3 separate regions of the Homo sapiens genome follow, and all the other regions are linked to region 3. The links are contacts of gene promoters, found by promoter capture Hi-C in human tissues and cell types (Jung and others, 2019). All regions are on one chromosome and are shown on one strand. Each heading gives the region's core, a stretch centred on a gene start or on the middle of the fragment in contact. The rest is flanking DNA. Distances are from core to core; before and after follow the strand shown. Region 1 overlaps CCNK (cyclin K). Region 2 holds the start of HHIPL1 (HHIP like 1). Region 3 holds the start of DEGS2 (delta 4-desaturase, sphingolipid 2).

Evidence for each region. Contacts are between HindIII fragments. The study calls those that stand out against the background at their distance.
Region 1: a contact is called between a fragment that was not itself captured here and the fragment with the promoter of DEGS2 in region 3, in 1 of the 25 tissues and cell types used here (dorsolateral prefrontal cortex).
Region 2: the fragment with the promoter of HHIPL1 here is called in contact with the fragment with the promoter of DEGS2 in region 3 in 2 of the 25 tissues and cell types used here (H1 embryonic stem cells and stomach).

The regions. Positions count from the first base shown.
Region 1 is chr14:99,486,746-99,490,671 of GRCh38, forward strand. The region is part of intron 1 of CCNK (cyclin K); the gene reads left to right. Among named protein-coding and RNA genes, the nearest start is that of CCNK, 7.3 kb to the left of the region's middle. The HindIII fragment of the contact is 4,165 bases long and covers 21-3,926 here.
Region 2 is chr14:99,643,769-99,647,958 of GRCh38, forward strand. It overlaps HHIPL1 (HHIP like 1), which reads left to right and starts at 1,361. Exons shown (of 9, transcript NM_001127258.3): 1 at 1,361-1,694. The coding sequence starts at 1,440. The HindIII fragment of the contact is 28,378 bases long and covers 1-4,190 here.
Region 3 is chr14:100,157,725-100,161,587 of GRCh38, forward strand. It overlaps DEGS2 (delta 4-desaturase, sphingolipid 2), which reads right to left and starts at 1,921. Exons shown (of 3, transcript NM_206918.3): 1 at 1,782-1,921. The coding sequence starts at 1,863. LOC124903380 (a long non-coding RNA gene) reads left to right here and starts at 2,313. Exons shown (of 2, transcript XR_007064330.1): 1 at 2,313-2,407; 2 at 3,584-3,863. RefSeq lists silencers at 1,708-1,767, 1,868-2,267. The HindIII fragment of the contact is 21,272 bases long and covers 1-3,863 here.

The DNA of each region.
Region 1 (3,926 bases), core at 853-3,352, 670 kb before region 3:
CCAGCTGCCATTGTGTGGAGACAGGTGTATTAGGCATTACTTGAACTGCTACTATAATCTCCTAACTCTTCCTCTTTCTGCATACCTCTAAACAGCCCTTACCTCATTATGTTCTCTCCCCTTACATGCGTTATTATTTGTGGCACTTAAGATTCCCTGACAAATATTCATATATTTCTTTCTTATTGTCTCTCCCACTAGAATGTAAGCTTCCTGGGGCAAAGACCTTACTTATCTTGTGCCCTGCCATGCCATTAAGGCCTGGCTCATAGTAAATGCTCAGGAAATATTTAAATGAAAAAGTACATGGAAAACTGTTAGGCGTATGTATATTAAAGTAGCAATTCCCAACTGTGAATAAATTGCTAAGATGTGCTAAGATATTGATTCCCTCAGCCAACTGTCCAGTTGCCTTCTGTTCTATAAGAATATATGTACATGTTTAACACTTATTAATAATCAAACACCAGAAACATTTACATGCCCAAACAGTAGAATGTATAGATAAAGTGTGTTGCATTCATAGGATATAACTGTACTGTACAGCAGACTTTCTCAGCTTTGGCACTATTGACATGTTGGACCAGATAATTTCTTGTCATGGGGGATTGTTCTGTGCACTGAGGACATTCAGCAACATTCCTGGCCTCTACCCACACTAGATGCCAGTGGCAACCCCCCAGTTAGGAAAACCAGAAGTGTCTTCAGACATTGCCAAATGTCCCCTGGGGGGCAAAATTGTCCCAGGTTTAAAAACCACTGCTCTGCGGCAGTGAGAATGAACAAATACTGCTTTATGCAACAACAGGAATGAATCCCATGAACTTAATATTGAGCAGAAGAAACCAAATGTAAAAGTGGTACTGTGTCATCGCACAGTCCTTCAAAAACAGGCAAAACAAATTGATGGAAATAGAGGTCAGAATAGTTATCTTTGGGAGGATAGTCACTAGGAAAGAACGAAGAGAGCTTCTGGAATGTTGGTACTGTTCTCTTTCTCAACTGAATAGTGTTAACACAGGTGTGTTTACTTTGTGAAAAACAATCAGCCATACACTTATAATTAGTTCACTTTTCTTTTTGTATGCTATAATTCAAATCACAGTGTTGTAATTTATGAAAGCAGTACCCACACATAAGCAAGTATTCCTTGGCTATCGAGGGATTGATGAAGATAAGGAGTCCTCCTGGTCTCCTATTCAGTCTCATCTGACTTTTTCCCCAACTTTTTATTGTATGAAAGAATAGTGCAATGACAACTTATTTACCTGTGGACACATGTTCGTTTTTTGCCATGTTTACTGTGTGGTTGTGTTTTAGCTGAACCATTTGAAAGTAGGTTGCAGACATCATGACACTTTACCCAAAATACTTCAGCCTTCATCTGCTAAGAATAAAGTCATTCTCCTGTGTAATCACAATATCATTATTACCCCCAAAGAAAATTAACTGACAGTAATTCCCTCCCTAATACCCTCTAATATACAATTTATACTTAAATTTTTCCAAATTGTTTGAAATTTCTTTTTTTTAAAAAAAAAAAAAAAGCAGGATCTAATCAAGGTTCACACATTGCATTTTGTTGTAGCCCTCTTTAGCCTTTTTAAATCTAAGACAGTCTCTCAAAATGTTTTTTCATAACACTGTTTTGAAGAGACCGGGTCAGTTGTTGAGTAGAGTGTCTCACCTTCTGGATGTGACTGATAGTTTCCATGTTGTGCTTTTTTCACTTACTCTTGTACCACCAGTATTTATTGTAAACTGGAAGTTCGGTCAAAAGTTTGCTTAAATTTAGGTTAAGCTTTTGGGGGACAAGAATACTACATAGGTAGGTGATATTTATTTCACATTGCATCACATCAGAAGCCATGTAATGTCAGGTTTTCACCCTATTAGTGATGTCAAGTGTGATCATTTTGTTAAGGATCAACTGTATTTTTTTTACAGTAGTTAATATCCATGCTAGCAAAGTCGCATTTATTATCAGTAGCATTTTATTATCAGTAGTTATCAGTGCTAGCAAAGTATTATTCTCTATATGTATTAATATTATGGACACTTGGATTGTATGTTCACTATTTTATGATCAACCACAGTTATTTTTCTTTTTGCTATTCAAATTACCTTGGATTAGTCCAGTGGGCACCCATCATGGTGGCTCCTATGTCTTTTTTTTTTTTTTCCCTAGCAAATCATTCCTTCAGCAGTCCTATGTCTTTTGATAAGCTTTGATTAGTCTGAGTACATCCCAGGCAGGCTCCAACCCCAGACTGGAAAGAAACCTGCTTCCTTTTAGAGGGTATTGGTATTGAAAAAGTTAAGATTTCAGAATTAGGAGTGTCATTCCTTCTTGGTACTTGAAAAGGACAGAAATGGGATACATATATATATATTTTTTTTTAACCATGATTTATTTTGATATCTTCAGTTAAAGTTTAACATTACAGATTTGTTTCTTAACATTTGGTTTTCTGCATGTGTGCATTTGTTTTCTTTGCACTGAAAATCTTGGTTCCTAACAACATTAGCATTTACATATTTGCTTTATTCCACAACATGCAAAAAAAAATGTGTTTGAAAATTACAACATTAATGACACTACTAACAGTACACTAATGAAGTTTTAAAATTTCGTTGGGGCCAGCCACTGTGGCTCATACCCATAATCCTAGCACTTTGGGAGGCTAGGCGGGAGGATCGCTTGAGGCCAGGAGTTCGATGCTGCAGTGAACTAGGATCATGCCACTGCACTTATAGCCTGGGTGACAGAACAAGACTCTGACTCTAAAATAAGTAAGTAAGTAAATAAATAAACAAATAAATAATTCTTTTCAGTTATTTTTGTCCTTAGAATATATCTCACTAAGCATGTAACAATATCAGAAATTACTTGGAAGTAAGTTTCTGTGTGATTTTGTTGCCCATTTGGTTTGAGTTTTAGGATTTGCTTTTTTATTTTTAGTTAAGTGTATGAGTATGTTAAATATTTACATGATTCAAACATCAAAGTTATAAAAGTACTCTGCAGGGAGTCAAGCTGAAAGAGCACCTAATGGCCACATTGGAATAATTTGAGCAACAAAATAAATAATGATAGTATTGGATTATAACCCAAAGAATAAAATACTCATGTCTGTACTAAAGTAAATAAACAAATGGGAGAGAAGAAACAAATATTAACAAAATGATTCCAAATAATAAATGTTGAAGCAGTGAAGGAAATAGAAAGTCACCATTAGAACACCACAGTTGTAATCGTCTCAGGTGAATGCTAAAATTAGTAGATGAAACTTGAAGGAGAAATAGACATTTGTATAGTATTTTGCATTGTAAAATATTTCCCCCAAAATATTTACTTACTAGTGGGTGGTTTTAACATATGTCCACAATTTCTTTGATATCTCTGCCTCCAGAAAGTAGAGCTTAATTCCTTTACCCTTGAGTGTGGGCTGGACCTCGTGACTTGCATCTAAGGAATAGAAGATAGGAAGGGAAAAATAATAATTTACAGTGAGAAACCTGGTAGACTCCATCTTAACCAAGAGCTCATGGTTAACAGCAGTAAGTTGTTCTGATATCACCTGCACCCAAATATGATGTGTAGTTAATAGTGGTTATACCAAAGTTAATTTCTTTTTTTGGATAAATGAACCATGGTTATGGAAGATGTTTACATTGGGGAAGCTAAGTGAAGGGTATAGACAAAACTCATCTATCTTTACAGCTCTTCTGTAAACGTACAATTAGTTTAAAATAAAAGCTTTCATAAAAAGGCAAAGCTGTATAAAAAGATATATACATAGAGAAGTCTTGTTTCCATTCCTGTCTTTTCCATCCTGTTTTTCCCCATTCCTTATTGGTAAATATTTTTTGAATTACTTTAAAAAAATAGAGATGTCTGGCTGGGCGCGGTGGCTCACACCTGT
Region 2 (4,190 bases), core at 111-2,610, 510 kb before region 3:
GGCAGGGAGAAGCCGGGGTATTTCTCCTCCTCTGTCTGTGCAGAATCTCTGACAGTGGCTATCTCCAGCTGTGGCCAGACAGGCCTTGTGAGGGTCCAGCTTTGACAAGGTGACCATAGCTCCTTGGCTCCAGTAACATCTGCTCTTCCTGCATCAAGGACCTGGGGACTGTTCCTACTGTTGCTGATCTCAAGGTTACTTCACTGAGCCCTGTATGGCTTCTTAGCCTCTTTGGCTTCAAGTCCCTGCGTTAAATTCCCCGTGTTTCAAATACTCAGAGATGTTTGGCTGTGCGGAGACCCTGACTCTTACACTGCACCTGTTCAGGCCAGAGCCACAGACCTCTGAGTGCTCCAGCCCTGCCGCATCTCATCCACCCCCAGCTCTGCCAGGAGCATGGGCCCAAAGACAGAAACATGATCCCCCAGGACAGTCCAAAGAGACCTGCAGAGGACGGATGTGTGCGTTGGGGCCATGAAGATGGAGTAGGAGCTCACTGGACAGAGAAGATGGGGAAGGACACTCCAGGGAGAAGCAAACGCTGAGGTCCACTTGAGAAAAATGCCTGGGTGGTTTTGGTGCTGTGAGATTCTAGGGTAGGTGAGACAGTGTGTGTGTGTTTGTCTGTGTGGGTGGTTTTGGTGCCATGAGATTCTGGGGTAGGTAAGACAGCGTGTGTGCGTCTGTATGTGTGTGGGGGGGTGGGGCGGGGTTGGGTCTGAATCTCCAGCGGGGGCAGCGGAACAAAGGGCTGGATGCCCATCCCAGGAGGTAGATTCATCAGTGCTCCCTATGCGAGAGTGGAAGTGGGGAGCCCCAGTGGGTCCTGGGCTGCAGGAGAATCCGCTGCCCCAGGAGCAGAGACTGGGAAGAAGCCCACAGTAAGGGCAAAGGGTGGACTGCGGAGACTGCTCCGTCCTCCCTCCCCACCCCTACGCCAGGTTTCACTTCTCCCTGAGAGTCCTGGGGCAACACCCCCTGTTCTTTCCCTCGCACCCCCATTTTTAAAATGTTACGTGGGAGCTTTCGGGGACGGGCTGCGGGCATCCGTTTCCCTAGCCCAGTGGGAGGTGGAACCGAAGCCCAGGAGTCCAGGCCTCTGGCCCTGCGCCTCCCTGGCTAAAGAGCGCCCTGTGGGGAGGAAGCAGGGCCCCAGGCGGAACCGGGAAAACACACCGGGGCTTTAAACAGACCGGGCCACTCCCATCGAATTTGGAAAGCGGTTAAAAGAGGTCGTGCCGCATTCTGCGCCGCGTCCCTCTTCCTTCAGTCCCGCCGAGTGTCCCCGACCAGAGGTGACCTCCTAGAAGGGGAGGTCCCCAAACTCGAGGCCCTGCGTGTAGGGAAGGGGAGCGCCCGCCCCTTCCCTGCCGCCGCGAGCGCCCCGGGAGGGGACCGGGGCTGCCGTCCCTCCGCCTCTTCCCCCGCGGGGCGTAGCGATGGCCCGGGCCAGGGCCGGGGCGCTGCTGGCGCTTTGGGTGCTCGGGGCCGCCGCGCATCCGCAGTGCCTGGACTTCAGGCCGCCCTTCCGGCCGACGCAGCCGCTGCGCCTCTGCGCGCAGTACTCGGACTTCGGCTGCTGCGATGAGGGGCGCGACGCCGAGCTGACCCGCCGCTTCTGGGCCCTGGCGAGCCGCGTGGACGCCGCCGAGTGGGCCGCGTGCGCCGGCTACGCGAGGGACCTGCTGTGCCAGGTGAGCGGGCGCGCGGCCACCGGGCGGGGCGGGGCGCGGGAGGCCGAGTCCTGGAGCAGAGATCGGAACCCCGCGGGGGCGAGGGCCAAGAGTGGGCGGCGGACTCGGGAACTCTAAGCCCCAACAGGGAGTCATTTGGCACGGGGCGGGGAGACCGCGCATCCCAGGACGACTCTTGGCTTTGCCATTCATTAGTTTTGTGACTTGGGCCTTCTCGGGGCCTCAGTTTCCCCTCCTGAAGCAGGAAGGACGGACGGACGGACAGATGATGTCATCATTTCCTCAGAGGTTGGGGGCTCTTCTGCCCCAGTCCCCTGGAGTCGACCCCTCAGCGTCCCACCCCGAGCAGCTGCACCCTTGTCGGGGTACCAAGGTGGAGAGGCATCTGTCCCGGTCAGTGCTCCTTTGTGTTGTCCCCGGGGCAGTGAAAGCAGGGGGCCCTGGCGTGGGCGTGGTCAACGTGTGGCCCGGGTTTGTTGAGGGGGTTGGGGCCACTGTCCCCCACGAGCGTCTCACCCCCATCCTGATGCCCTTGCCACTTCCGCCACCACCTCTGTGGGTGCTGTGCCCTCTCCTGGGGATGGCGCCCTGGCCTGCAGAAGCTCTCTCAAGACTGAGCGACAGCTCTTTGTTGAAGCCCCTGGGCCCCCCATCTTCCCTCTGAGGGTGGAGCCCCTGCTTCTGTGCACACCTGGTGGTGCCACCGCTATTTGTTTTCCTCTTGTGGGAGTCTGAGGCCCCAGGGCCTGACCACACCCAAGTGGGCAAATGTTGCCTGGCTGAATGCAGAAATGGAGCAGGACGGGCAGCCCCAAGGCATTCCTGCCTCAGCATCTGGGCAGTGAGAGGCCTGGGGTGGAGAGGCCCCAGGGGCCAGGGCCGTGTCCCAGCCTTCGGCCAGCAGGGGCAGGTGGTGTGGGGAAGGGCAAGAAGGCTGACTTGGAGTTGGAGTTTGATCCTGGCTCTGTCACTTCCCCAGCTTCGTGACCTGGGCAGGTCACTGCTGCACCTCACAATATCTTTAAAATGAAGCTGAGTATGGTGGCTTATGCCTGTAATCCCAGCACTTTGGGAGGCCAAGGTGGGCAGATCACTTGAGGTCAGGAGTTCGAGACCAGCCTGGCCAACATGGCGAAACTCCATCTCTACAAAAATACAAAAATTAACTGGGCATGTTGGGGAGCTCCTGTAATCCCAGCTACTCGGGAGGCTGAGGCAGGAGAAGCACTTGACTCTGGGAGGCAGAGGTTGCAGTGAGCCAAGATTGAGCCACTGCACCCCAGCCTGGGCAACAGAGCAAGACTCCGTCTCAAAAATATAATATAATATAATATGATATGATATGATATGATATGATATGATATGATATGATATAATATAATATAATATAATATAATATGATATAATATGATACATAAAATAAATAAAATAAAACCTTAACCACCCCCCTGGGTGGCCATGCAGATTAAATGCCACATACTAGGGGCTCGGTAAGTGTTTGCAGTTGGATTTCTCGAGGGCTTCCTTGGCCCTCACTGGCTGCCCAGCCCTGGGAAGGGTCCAGGTGAGGCTTGGAGCCCGAATCAAGGAAGACTCAGAGGCAGGCAGGGACTTGCCCAGTGGTCGCACAGCCCAGCGGTGGTTGAGGTGGGGACATGGACCACACTCGCTGAAGCGAGCTCATATCTTAGGTGGGAAGCAGTAGACTCTGGGAGGATGAGGAGGGGGCCCTGGGGAGCTCCAGAATGCAACAGAGGGTGGGCTGGCCACCTTTAGGTGGGCTCTGCTGGACTCCCATGCTGTACACCTCAAGGGCACGGGAATGGTCTGGCCAAGCGTCTGCCTCCCTCACCAGCCTGGGGGCTCCTCAGGACCAGGTCCTTTGGTCTCCCTACCCCCATCACATAGCAGAGTTCCTGCATCCATGCCACATTTGTCTATTGAGCACTTGCTATGTGCCAGGCTCAGCACGGCAGTGAGGTGGGCAGGTGGATGGAGGAAGGGAAGGGTCAGTCCTGATGCTGTCCCCTGGCAGGTTTCTTGGGAAACTTCCCAGGACAGCCTGGCTTTAAGCAACCAGCAGTTAGCAGGAGTGACCACTAACACTTCAGCCCAGGCGTCTCTGAGAGTGACCTCATGTCTGGAGTGAGCTTAGAGACGGCGGCTGAGGCTGGGTTATGGTTTCACTGACGGGGCCTCCTGGAGCATGCTGGCGGGAGGACCATGCTCTCTGCTAGCCAAGGCAGAGTCTGCATTTGGCACCTCCTGATTTCCACACGGGGAGGTGGTGGAGGTGCCTTATTCATAGGTCTCTGTCAGTGTGGAGGCACTCAGGCCTTCACACCTGCTTTGGGGGGATGGGAGACTCTTTCCTGAGGCTTTGCTTGTCCAGTAAGTGCCTGTGTCCTCTGGAGGAGAGAGGACAGCCATGGCACGTGGCATCCCCAGTGCATCTGGTGTGAGCTTCCACATCGCTAACCTCCCCTGTGACTGGGG
Region 3 (3,863 bases), core at 671-3,170:
TCTTGGGTTTCAAACATTTAAAAGTCATGGTATCTCAGTATGCTGCCATGGGATTAAAAAAAGAGGAAGAAAGAAAAAGTTGGCTGGGCGCAGTGGCTCACACCTGTAATCCCAACAGTTTGGGAGGCAGAGGCGGGTGAATCACCTGAGGTCAGGAGTTTGAGACCAGCCTAGCCAACATGGTGAAACCCCATCTCTACTACAAATACAAAATTAGCCGGGTGTGGTGGCGGGTGCCTGTAATCCCAGCTACTCAGAAGGCTGAGGCAGGAGAATCGCTTGAACCTGGGAGGCGGAGGTTGCGGTGAGTGGAGATCGCATCACTGCACTCCGGTCTGGGCGACAGAGCAAGACTTCCTCTCAAAAAAAAAAAAAAAAAAAAAAAAAGTTGTTCAGGCCAGGCGTGGTGGCTCATGGCCCATGCCTGTAGTCCCAACACTTTGGGAGGCTGAGATGGGTGGATCCCTCGAGCTCGGAAGTTTGAGACCAGCCTGGGCAACATGGCAAGACCCTGTTTCTAGTAAAAATACAAAAAAAATAGCCGGGCATAGTGGTACACACCTGCAGTCTCAACTACTCAGGAGGCTGAGGTAGGAGGATCAGTTGAGCCCAGTGGGGAGAGGTTGCAGTGAGCTAAGATCGCGCCTAGCCAACATGGTGAAACTCCATCTCACTACAAATACAAAAATTAGCCGGGTGTGGTGGCAGGTGCCTGTAATCCCAGCTACTCAGAAGGCTGAGGCAGGAGAATCGCTTGAACCTGGGAGGCGGGGGTCGCAGTGAGCCGAGATCGCGAGACTCTGTCTCTAAATAAATAAATTAATTAAATTAAATAAAACGCCCGATTAAAATGTGAAACCTCCATCAAATAAGTGCAAATTAAAGCCACAGTGAAATGGTATTGTTTCCCCAATCTGACTGAAGATTACAAAGTGTGGCAACGCGCGGTGCTGACTTAGGCAGGGCGGGAGGGGCGGGCCTGTCTCAGCCTGTGGCGATTTGGTGGCATCTGGCAAAAGCCACTCTCCAGACGCAGGCCCTTTAACCCCGTAAGCCCGGGCCAAGGACGACTCACCGGGGCCACCTTGCTTGTGGGTGGGATGGGGCCTCTGGCATGAACGAGAGTGACTCCGAGTGGGTAAAGATGCCCTCCTCGCAGAGGACACGAAGCAACAAGGAAAACAGCCACCACGTAATAAGCGACATGCCAGAATAGAAGGATTCTTTAGTACAATCTTTGCTTTTTTCAAAGAAAACACGCGCGCCTCTCATTCGCGTTTGCTCCCTTCCCGGCGCTCATCCGCCCTGAACTCCAGCCTGGGGCGCCCGTGGCCGCGAGACCCAGGGGCTCTGAGCGCAGCAGGCGCCCAGTGACTGCGGGTGGAGGCCCCGCGTCGCGCAAGCTGCCTCCGCGCCAGGGAGCGCGTGCGCCTCGTAGCGCGTCCCGGGGCCGCCCCTGCGCCCTCGCGTCCCAGCATCCCAGAGCCCCGGCCCTGGCCCCGGGAGTGGCTCGCGAGGAACAGCTGGGACGCGCTCCCTGGCGCTCGGACCCGTACTGGGGTCCTCGGAATCCTCAGGTCCCAGGGAGTTTCAGACCCGGCCAGGGTGGGGGACCCTCGGGGAGCCGGCCGGGGACCCCAGGGAGGGGAGCGGCAATGGCGGAACGCCCACTGGAATTTGGGCCAGAGCTGGAGCGGCCCGTCTGGGCTCGACCCCACGACGCGACTCCAGACGGGCCAACGGGGCGGTCCCCACCGGGGTGGGCCCCGCGCGGCGCTCACCCAGTATCTCCTTGCGCCGCTGCGTGTGCGGCTGGTCGGTGTAGACCCACTCGAAGTCGCTGCGGCTCGCGCTGTTGCCCATGGTGGGGCGGGAGGCGCCGTTCGGAGCGCGGCCGGCTCGGCTCTGCTGCACCTGTCGCGGCGGCCGCGGCGCGGAACCAGCTCTGATTAGGGCGGGGGCGGGGTCCCGGCGGGGCGGGGCCAGGTGCGCCAGGCTTGGGGCGGGGCACCTCTGGCTGGGCGGGGCGGCCGGGCCCCGGCGCTCTCCAGACCCCGGCGGGTAGCTGGCGCTTTGGGAACCTCAGTTGCCTCGGTTGGAAATGGGGCTCCCCGGCAGGACCGAGGTGGCCGCGTGCCATCTGCGCGAGTCCCTGGGTCCCTCGATGCGCGGGGGCGACTGCTGCCACCGCGGCCTCCCACCGGCTCTGCGCGCCCCGCCCACCCGCGGGCAGCCGTCGGGTTTTTACCCCGGCCCGTTCTCTCCGCAGCCCCGACCCGCTCGCGGGCACGCCCCTGTGGCTCGCGCCGCCCCTGCCCCAAGGAGGAGCGGCTGGCAGGATAGGGGGACTGCGGAGGATCGGCGTGGAATGGATGCGACGGTGCCAGTAAACAGGCGCCGAGGAAAGGTTGGTGCAGCAATCCTCCCTTCCTCCACCCGGCCCTTTCACCAATAATGCAAAGGGGAGATAATGCGTCTGCAGCAACCTCACAGGGATGAGTCAGACCCACTCCTGCCTTCAGGGAACTTGAGTTCTGGATGGGGACACAGGTACAGAAGTGGCTGTTATGATTCAGGGTGATACGTGCCATGACACAGGTAGGCCCTGAAGCAGCTAGGATCCAATAGAAGGAACTTTTGCATTGGGCCTTGAGGGGTGGGTAGGAGTTCAACAGCTAGAAAAGGGAAAGGCATTGGTGCTAGGGGGAACAGCAGATGCAAACGCTTGGAAACAAGGCAGAACCTGAATGTTCTCAAATGGAAAGTCTAGTTTTGGGGAGGTAAGGGCACAGGGCCCCTCATCTTCACCCTCTCAGTGATGCCTCTGTTCCTTCTCCCACTCCCTTGGAGTTTTGGAGGGTGGACCTGCTGTGCCTGTGGGCCAGAGCCTGGCCTCGGCTGGCAGTTGCCTGGGAGCTGACTGACACATCAGCCAGCGCTGCCACAGGCTCGCACATAGTGAGGGCGTGCTTCTGTGCGTCCCATGGAAGTCCATGGCCCGGGGTTTGGTACACTTGGCAGGCCTTCCTTAGCTCAGGGCCAAAGGCAGTCCTGAGTGAGCCAGGAAGGAAGGCATGGGTGTCCTGCAGCCGCCAGCCACCATCCCCTGAATTAGCCATGGGAAAGGTGGACACAGAGGCCAGATTTTCCATCAGCAGGGGGACCCACATGCCACCATGGCCATCACCCCTTGCCACACCCAGGAGGCCTCCCGGCCCAGCTTGCACCCTTGGGAGAAGACTCATTGCTCCCAGGGCAGCCTGCTCTGTTCCCAGCCAGAAGGGTCCTCAGAAGTCATCCCACCAGCCATCACTTTACAGATCAGGAGACTGAGGCCCAGAGATGAGGAGCGCCTTGCCTGAGGCACAGAGGAATTAACAGCAAGGCTGGGGCATGACTTTGGCCCCTGACCTTTGAATTAAAAAGCTTCCAAAATCAGAGCCTTCGCCCCTGTGTTGAACTCCGTGAGATCTGCCGCCCTGAGCCCCAGCTCCACCCTCAGGACAACACCAAGCCTGCCAGTTCCCTCTGCCCCAGGCCACCGCCTATCCAGAGGAAACTCACCAAGGCCCTCATTTTCCAGATGAGGAAACTGAGGCCAGAGAGGGGACAAGTCAGAGGACATGCTGAAGAAGACCTGGGAGTGGAACAGACACCCAGGATGCATGAAATCAAGTCTGATGCCCTTGCCAAGTGCTCCCCAAGTCCCTGGGGAGCCAGAAACCCAGCTTCACGGTGTTGACGAGCCAGGAGCACATACTGTTGCGTCCCCACCCTGTCCGTTGTCCCAGAAATGACAGAAAATACATTTTCGTTTGTAATGTGGTGTCTTGAATGGGATCCTGGAGCAGAAAAAGGACATT